Regions from separate parts of the Homo sapiens genome. Here region 1 is linked to region 2. Evidence: promoter capture Hi-C in human tissues and cell types (Jung and others, 2019). All regions are on one chromosome and are shown on one strand. The core of a region is centred on a gene start or on the middle of the fragment in contact, and the rest is flanking DNA. Distances in the headings are between cores, read along the strand shown.

The links. The method cuts DNA at HindIII sites, captures the fragments that hold promoters and counts their contacts. A contact is called where the count stands out against the background at its distance.
Region 1: a fragment that was not itself captured here is called in contact with the fragment with the promoter of CNTFR in region 2 in 2 of the 25 tissues and cell types used here (dorsolateral prefrontal cortex and mesenchymal stem cells).

The regions. Positions count from the first base shown.
Region 1 is chr9:34,464,235-34,469,197 of GRCh38, reverse strand. The region is part of intron 1 of DNAI1 (dynein axonemal intermediate chain 1); the gene reads right to left. Among named protein-coding and RNA genes, the nearest start is that of DNAI1, 7.9 kb to the right of the region's middle. The HindIII fragment of the contact is 7,861 bases long and covers 1-4,963 here.
Region 2 is chr9:34,588,443-34,593,004 of GRCh38, reverse strand. CNTFR (ciliary neurotrophic factor receptor) reads left to right here and starts at 3,281. Exons shown (of 10, transcript NM_147164.3): 1 at 3,281-3,450. The HindIII fragment of the contact is 8,661 bases long and covers 2,200-4,562 here.

The DNA.
Region 1 (4,963 bases), core at 2,098-4,597, 120 kb after region 2:
TGTTTCCCTGTATGCAATTTGTCATTTTTCTTTGGCTACTTCCAAGGTTTTAGTTTTATCTTTGGTTTTCAGTAGTTTGACTATAAAAGACCTAGATGTGGTTTTATTTGTATTTATCCTGCTTGGGGCTCACTGAGTTTCTGATAGTCCTATATGTTTTCCACCAAGTTCAGAAAACTTTTGACCATTATTTCTTCAAATATTTTTTCTTCCTCTTTTTCCCTCTGGCATTCCAACTACACCCATGTTCCAAATACATATATAATATATTCCATAGCTCACAAAGGCCCTCTCTTTTATTATTATTATTTTTTAGTGGAGCCTCAGTAACAGGGCACCTGTTTTTTCTTTTTCTTTTCTCTTTTTTTTTTTGAGACAGGGTCTCACTCTGTCACCCAGACTGCTTTGCAGTGGCACAGCCGCAGCTCACTGCAGCCTTGATCTCCTGGGTTCAAGCTATCCTTCCACTTCAGCCTCCCACATAGAGGGACCACAGGGGCATACCACCACGCCTGGCTAATTTTTAAATTTTTTGTAGAGACGAGGTTTTTTTTATGTTGCCCAGGTTGGTCTCAAACTTCTGGGCTCAAGTGATCCTCCCGTCTCATCCTCCCAAAGTGCTGGGATTATAGGTATGAGCCACCATGCCCAGCCAGGCTCTCTTTTTACAAGAAAAACAAAACAAAACAAAACAAAACAAAACCTTCTTGGCCGGGCGTGGTGGCTCACGCCTGTAATCCCAGCACTTTGGGAGGCCAAGACTGGTGGATCAGGAGGTTAGGAGATCGAGACCATCCTGGCTAACATGGTGAAACCCCGTCTCTACTAAAAATACAAAAAAAAAAAAAAATTAGCCAGGCGTGGTGGCGGGCGCCTTAGTCCCAGCTACTCGGGAGGCTGAGGCAGGAGAATGGCGTGAACCTGGAAGGAGGAGCTTGCAGTGAGCCGAGATCGCGCCACTGCATTCCAGCCTGGCAGACAGAGCGAGACGCCATCTCAAAAAAAAAAAAGCCTTCTTCCTCTCTGTTCTTCAGATTAAATAATTTCCATGGATCCATCTTCACATTCAGCTGTTAGGCCTATCCAACGAATTTTTTATTTCTGATATTGTATTTTTCTACTGTTTCCATTTTTCTGCTTAGATTCTCCATCCGTGCATCCATTAAAACAATATTTCCTTTATGTCCATAAATATATTTATAACAGCTGCTTTAAAGACATTGCCTGCTAATTCCAACATCTGTGTTACTCCCTGGTACTATCATGCTCTCCTTTGGATCTACCTCTCTGAGCCATGATCAAGAAATTGTCCTTAGGCAGAGAGCAAGGGTAAATGTGTGACTCACGTTGAGTGTTTTCCTTCCCTCAGGAATCACTGTCCTATGTTGTCTATTGTCCAATACCGAAAAACATTAGTGTCATATATTGTGTCCAGGCTTACTGCTGTTTACAGTGTGAGGGAAAGTCCAGTGTAGATTTCTGCACCATGGCCAGAATATAAATCCCCTAAATCAAGGTCTTTAAGGTTATATATATACTGCATTTTATTTATTTATTTATTTTAGAGACAGGTTCTCACTCTGTTGCCCATGCTGGAGTGCAGTGGTAACAATCATAGCTCACTGGAGTCTTGAACTCTTGGGCTCAAGGGATCCTCCCGCCTCAGCCTCCTGAGTAGCTGGGACTACAGGTGCATGCAACCTGGCTAATTTGTGGTGTGTGTGTGTGTGTGTGTGTGTGTGTGTGTGTGTGTGTGTATTTGTGTAGAGATGGGGTCTTGCTGTGTTGTCCAGGCTGGTCTCAAACTCCTAGGCTCAAGTGATCCTCCTGCCTCAGCCTCCCAAAGTGCTAGGATTACAGCCATGAGCCATCATGCCTGGCCTGTGTGCTGTATTTTAAAATTCATTGCAGAAATGTGCTATTTTTAAAACCCTATAGTAAAGGCTTTTGTAAAGGACAGGACCTTTTGTAATGTAAATATCAGCCCTGAATGAAAGCATTGGACTAGAAGAAATCTGAGGCCCCTGAGGCCCCTTCCCGCACAATTCATGAGAAAGAGATTTACCAGAAACAATATGGAAGTTACTTTAGAGTAAAGCGAGTTATATCTTCCACTGGAGGAGCTGAGCAAAGAGAATACCTCCTTCTAGCTTTGGTTGCTTAAAGAGCCATAGGATCTTGTCCCTTGCTGACATTGCCTAGCATGAACAGATGAGCTAGGGTCAATCAGATTCCCTCCTTAAGAATTTGAACTAGGACTACAGGGAGAACCAGCAGTTGGATGGAGATATTCATGGAAATGTTTGTGAGGTAGAGAGGTCAGAACAGTTATGATAAGCTGGAAACAGACTAAAATTATGAGGGAGCGGAGACCATGGAAATCTGGCCAGTTGGGAAATAAGAATAAGAATGAAACATAGTTGTTAAGAGAAATAGAGAGGCTGTGAGAGATGTGGAGAAAGTAGTTGGTCCCTATACCTGTTTCAGAATTAATTGTTTTCCAATTTCAATTCTAGGTTATCTATGTACTTATAATAACCATCTGTAACTCCCCACATATATACCTTCTCCCTTCTCTCATCCTCTTTTATCTGAGGTAACTTGAGTGAGCCTCTGTTCTTTGTAACTTAAAGAGCTTAACTAAAGTAATGTGTCTTAGAGTTTGCCAGGTCTGTAAAGGGCAGAAAGAGAAGAGAAGACTTGGGCATTCCATGCAGAGGGAACAAAATAATTAACAAAGACACAGAGGCACAGAAGCAGATGACTCTCCAAGGAGCAGCAGATTATTTTGTCCATATACACTCCAGTTTGTTCCCAAATAAGATTTGAGGCTGAATACATGACACATTGAGAAAATAAGTAAATGAGCAAATGGATGTGATGTAAGAATAAAAGTAGAAAAATAAGCTTAACATTAGGGGTAGGGTCCCTACATAATTAATAGGATTAGGCTGCTTTAACTAGGATAAAGGAGGCATGAATTGCTTCTTCTGCAGGCCAAGAAAGAAAAGTTAGTGTTCAGAGTAGTGCAGTACATACCTTCCCATCACTCATTTATTCACTCATCAACTAACTCATTCAGTCATTATTCATTCATTCAGCATTTATTAAGCATCTACTATGTGCCAGGTCCTCGGATGACGGCTAAAGAGGAACCAAGATTGAGTTGGTTCTCACACCCAGGGTTCTCAATCTAGGAGGTGAGATAAATGGAGGACATAAATCCACCATACAAACCAGAATCCAGTGACTCTATGAGTAGGACAAAGCGTTGTGAGACTCAAACCAGTGAAACTAAAGTTACAACAGCTGTGTCCTTTGCTTGCTTCTTGCATACAACTCTGTCAGTGCTCAGTGACTGCAAAGATTGAACACTTGATACAAATTCCTAACTGGCAGAAAACAATTTCATGTGGCTTGCTCACAGCTGGAGCCAGAGAGTCAACATTACTCCTCAGCATCAACTTGCAGGCTGCAAAGCCCAGCAACGAGCACAGGAGCCCTCTGCCATTATTATTTGAGTACCTGGCATGTACTGAGTGCTAACAATGTGCTAGGCCCCCTAGTACACAGGGGAGGAAAACAAATTCTGGCCTCAAATGCTCACAGCTGTTTTGTAATCTGATAATTGTGCATGACAAACCTCAGACCATAACTCTGAAAATAGCATGACTATAATCATAACAAAATGGAACTGCCATTGGCAAAAATTGTTTTCTAGTTATCACTTCCAGAAGGAATTCCATTAACACAACTAGGGGAAAAGAAGAAAAAACTGTCTCAGCTTTCTGCTGCTAAACCTCAAAATTATCATCAACTGCATCCATCCCTTCTCCTGTCCTGTTACAAAGTGTGCCTCCTCCTGTCCACAACATCATCTCCTCAGAGACTTGGCTCTAGTCATTATTTAATCTTTCTCCTTTATCTTCAACTTCTCTCTCCGTTCAGGATCCTTCCCCTCAGCATTTAATATATTCAAGTCTGTCATCTTAAAAAAACAATCTTTGCCTACATAGTTCTTACTGCCTTCTTAGCTCAATTCAGTTTAGCTTTTCACTCTGAAATTGTCCTTTCCAAGGTCCCCAATAACTTCCAAGTTATTAAATCTAATAGTTATATCTTAGTGTTTATCTTCATTGACACCTTAGCAACATGCAACTTGGCTGACCATACAGTTTCACTGAAACACATTCTTCCTTTGGCTTCTGGGATATTATTTTTCCTTGTTGTCTTCTTACTTCTCTGATTACTCCTTCTTATTCTCCATTTTGGACTCTTCTTCTTCTATCCAAACCTTAAATACTGGTGGTCCCCCCAGAAGTCTTCCCTAATTCCCCCAGAATCAGAATGAAGACCCCCTACCACATGCTTCCATAGAACCCTGTGCTACTTCCCCAACCACAGTTGATCACTCATTCAACATTCATCAAGAGCTTCTGACGTCATCATGGCCACTGTTTTAGGGGCTGAGAATACAGATATAAGCAAAAACATCCACAGGCCCTGCTCCCAAGGAGCTCACAGTCTAATGGGGGAGACATACAATAATCAAATAATTACACAAATAAGTGAATAATTACAAACCGTGATGCATGCTATGGAAGAAAGGAACACAGAGCAATGAGACTATATAACAGAGGAAACTTACCCTACCTTCCATAACGGGGCAGGGGGCATTGGGGGCAGGTTGTGGGGATTGATTTGGGGGCTGAAATCTTAGGAGTGAGTACATGTGTGAGGGAGGGTGTGAAAAGCATTCCAGAAAGGGGGCAGCACATAGAACTAAGGTACAGCAATAATGGAGAAGAGTGGTACAAATTAAGGTATAGAGACCCAGGTAGGTCTCAGGCCCATTCAGGTCTCTGGAGCGATTGTCTAAAAATCTGGTCCCTATCCTAAGAGCAATGGGAAGTCACTGAAGTGTTCTGAGTGGGGGATGGCACAATCAGATTGACAGTTTGAA
Region 2 (4,562 bases), core at 2,032-4,531:
CTGTGTGTGTAACTGTGTCTATGTGTGGGTATGGTGTGTGTGACTCAGGGACTCTCCTACTCTTTTGGGACCTCTAGTTCCTAGCCCAAGCTGGGGACCCTGACTCTCAGTGTACCATAGTGAAGTTGAATATACACCTTTTACTGTTTGAGATTGGGTGTGTGACTTTATGTGACCATGTGTTTGGCATTTGTAATACAGAGAGCCTGTGTGTGAGAGTGTGTGTGTTTGTAACTTTGGAGAGCCAGGTGTGTGCTGCAGGGAGAAACTTTCTGATGGTATTGCAAGTTAGAAACCAGCACCGTTTCCTAAAGGAGCACTGGAAAGGTAGACCATAGGGGATGGGGAGGGAGCTCTCCTTCCTCGGAGACATGTCAGTAAGAATAAGGAAGGGTCTTTGCTTGCCCAAAGGCTTGGAATGGCACAATTGATCCCTTGGTGTGTGTGTGGGGGGGTCCAAGTTTAGGTCACCTGCCAGGGTGGAGGGTGGTGTCAGAAATCCTGGCCATAGAGCCCCTTTCATGGTAGAGAACTCCAGGAACTGAAAGTCAACGAGGAACTTCCCATATTTCCCCAGGCGCAAATGTGAGATCCCCATCACGTGCAGGGCACAAGGGATCTGGCCTGGGGGTGTTACTTCCAGCCACTCCATCATGGGCAAGGTAGATGGTGAAGATTGGAAAGGCAGTGAATTCTTGGAGATGGAGTTGGGGAGAGGATGTCAGTGAAGTGGGGTTTGGCTTAAGGATAAGTGACATGACACAGAAGGGGGCTGGCGCAGAGCTGGGGAGGCCGGGAATAGGGGCGCTTAATAAAGGTGGAGAGGAGGCAGGGCCAGATCCTGCAGGGCTTTGAAGCCCCACCTAAGAAACTCAACTTTGCCCCCAAGGCGGTGGGGAGGGCTCAGCACTGAGGCTTACAAGCTCAAAGGCTACTGTGTAGGTAGGGCATCAGAGGCGGCAGGAGCGGAAACCACTACTAGTCTGTTGACCCAGCTCTGGGGGGAGGAAAATTGGTTGTGAGCCGGGTGGCGGCTGTGTGGAGAGGTGGCAGCCCCCGGTGTTCAGTAGGTGGCCGAGGCCTCAGCGCGGAGCAGGAGCAGCAGCCAGAAGGGAACGCACGTCCCGCACCGTCCGCCAGGTGTCGCTTCGGCCCCGGGGAAGCGCTCGAGGCCGCTGGGTCCCGCGCCGGGAGGAGCTGCTGACCGACTGACGCCTGGACAGAGGTCCGACGTGCGCCTCTTCCCTTCCTTTATCGTCTGACATCCACACGTCCACTTCCAGGACCCCGGACTCCCAGTGCGGATCTTGTCCCCGCAGCCGTGGACTGCTGCTCTGCCGACAGCAGCCTCTGCGTCCCCGGGGGCCGAGGGGGACGTTGGACCGGGACAGAATTCCCGACTGCTCCCAACCTGGCAGAAAGAGGCTGAGCCAGGGACACCAGGGCATCTGGAGGTCAAGTCCGTTCCCCAAACCACTCGCCAATTTTCACCCCGTCCGCCCCTCCCCGGCCGGATTAGAGCGCCGAGGCCGGTCAGCCCCCTGGGGAGGAGCGGCCCCCGGTGTACCGAACCTTGCCAGGGCCTAGAGCTTCGCCGCAGGGGCAGGGGCAAGTCCTGCTCCCCTCAAGATCCCGTCGCAACGCCCCCTTCCTTCCCCGCGTCCACAGTCTAATCCCGGTCTGCGGCACGGGAAGCAGGAGGCCGGCGGCCCAGAGAGCCCGGGGAGAGGACACCTTGTGTGGGCGGCTGTGCGCTGACCCTCAGCGGGGCGCAGCTAGTTTGCTGTGTGTCCTGAAGTCCTAGCTGGCCGTCTCTGAGCTCCAGCCCATGCCGACCCCTGCCAGTTGTAGGAAGGGGATTCTGTGGCCACGGAAGTGAAAGTGAAAAGCCCAGGCCGTGGCGGGAAGAAGGATTTTCCTCTGCAGTGGGAGTCCCTGAGGCATTTGTTGGGAAAGGGCCCGGGCGCTCTAGGCAGCCTACTGGGGAAGGATGTGAGGAAACATGGAGACATTTCCCTCCCTTCTCCTCGCCCTCAGCCCTAGAGCAGCTCCCCGGAGGGGCAGGGCCCAGGATTATGGGTCAAGGGTCAGGTGACAAATCCAAGGGGTGGAGACGGGGGTGGCTTTCTCGGTCTCTGCCTCTGCCATTGCCACTCCATTGCGCTTTCACGTGGCCTCAGAAGTTGGTCAGGTTGTCCAACCTTACTCTCCTATGTTGCAGCCAGACCGGAGGCCCAGGGACGAGTGCAGTGAACACCCCGGCCCCTCAGAGGCCCAGGCTGCGAAGGGAGTGAGCCTCCTATCGAGGGGTGCGCCTGTGCCCGGCATTGAGAGTGCACCCTCCCTACCCCTTCATTCCAGTGGAGGCTTCTCCCCCGGCTGTGTGTCCTCGGGGCGCGAGGAACATGCGAGTAGTGGTGTTGGTGTCATCGGAGACACTGGAGGCATGGGCCTGGGCTCCCGGCAGGGTCCATCCCCGGTCAAGGAAGCCCCTTTCCCCCGCGCGAGGGGGTGACCGGGAGGGGAGTCGTTGCGGGGGGCAGTAGCAATAGGGGAGAGGCGGAGCCGGCTGGCTTCTTCTGCCCAAAGTGGGGGTTGGGGGTTCTGGCTCGCGTTCCTCTCACGGCGACGCCGGAGGGAGGACCCCGAGAGTTGGCCCGGGGTGTGCCAGGGAGTCGGTGCGAGGCCGTCAGGGCCTGAACGTGCGGGAGTGTGCGCAGGAGAGACCTGGCTAAGGCCGAGAGGGAGAGTGAGTGTGAAGGAGCGATCCCGGGGGTGAGTGCGCGCCCAGCCGCCCTAGGGGAGCGGGCCGAGTGGGTGTGTGTGTGTGTGTGTGTGCGCGCGCGCGTTTGCGAGACCCGCGGCCGGGGCTGCGCGTGAAGCACGGGGACCACAGCCGTCTTGAGGGCGCGCCCGAGAAAGGGTGAACGCGAGGGGGCCACGCGTGCCAGTGCGGACGAGTGTGCCAGCGGGGGGGCAGAGCGCGTGCCAGTGCTGGGCGAGTGGGAGTGGGGGCTCACAGGCCCGCGCAGGGCGAGCGGACCGCGTGTGCCAGGAGCGAGAGCGTGCCAAGGCGGGGGCGCGCGGGGCCCGTGGCGGGGAGGGGTCGTGGCGCGCGGCCGCGGAGGCGCGGGGAGACAAGGCAAGAGGGGGAGGGGAGCGAGGGCGCGCGCGGCCGAGCGGGCGCCCGCGGTCACATGGGCGAGAGAAGGAGGGAGGGAGCGCGCGAGGGAGGGAGGAGGATGGGGGGGTTAAAGCCGCCGAGCGCTGAAGAGCCGGTGCAGAGCGGGCGGCGGCGGCGGCGGCAGCGGAGGCGGCGGCTCCAGCCGGCGCGGCGCGAGGCTCGGCGGTGGGATCCGGCGGGCGGTGCTAGCTCCGCGCTCCCTGCCTCGCTCGCTGCCGGGGGCGGTCGGAAGGCGCGGCGCGAAGCCCGGGTGGCCCGAGGGCGCGGTGAGTACCCTGCGGCGGAGTGCGCGCGGCCGGACCCTCAGAGCCCGGGCTGACCAGCAGACCGGCGGCCCTCATGCGTGCGGGAAGAGTGAGGGGACACCCGTGGGCCCACGGACGGGGGCGACAGGAAAGTTCACGAGAAACTTTGCCTGCAAACTCGGGGGCGGGGGCGCTGGAGGAGCGGCCCCCCACGTCCGGGCGCTCCGGGGGTTGGGCGTGGTGGTGGTGGTGGGGCCGACTGTGGACTAGAGGGAGGTGGCTCCGGCGGTTTGTCCTAGTGTCCCTGTTCTCCCCACCCCTCAGCTGCACGCGCGGGGTCTGGAAAAATTCCTGGGTTTGGGGAGGTTCGTAGTGGCCTTTGCGCGCCCAAAGGTGGCTTCTTTCTCGGGCAGAAATCTGGACTTCAAAGCGCCCGGGGATGCGAACCGACGGTTGCGCGTCTGCCAGTGCATGTGTGTCCGTGTGAATCCGCGCGCCCGCGCGCGCGTGTGTGTGTGCATGTGTGTGTCGGTCGGCGTCCCCATGGTTTTCTCTTCAGTCCGCCTGGATGTATCTCCATGTAGTGGGTCTCCTCCAGTGTGTCTCTTTGTAAGTCTTCCTGGCTTGTGCGAGTCTGCCTATGGTGTATCCCCAAGTGTCTCTTTGTGAGTCTGCTCGTGTGTGTCTCCTCCAGTGCGGCTCAGTGTGAGCCAGTCTGGGTGTCCCTGTGTTGCTCCGAGTAGTGTATCTCCGCGTGCGTGGGGGCTGGGCCGTGGGGAGGTCACCAGACGGACAGCTCTCCCTCTCGGCTCCTCTCCTCTCCCGAGCCTCTCCTCCAGCGTTAGCTCGCTCGCTTGCTCGCTCCCTTGTCCCCCTCCCCCCTCCAGTAGCTTCAGGCGGGCAGGACTATTTCACGCCTTGTTGAAAATTCAGGATTTTCTTTCTTTCCGTCTAGTCTCTCTTTTTGAGAAGCGTCTGTGTGTGTCTGTGTGCCTGGCAGCTTGTCTGCAACATTGGGTGTGTGTCTGCATGCCGCTGTAGGAGTGTGTCTCTAACACTAGTTGTTCTGCCTGTAATACTTGGTGAATTTGTGTCTGTGTCACTGGGAGTGTTTGTGTGGCTGTGGTCACTGA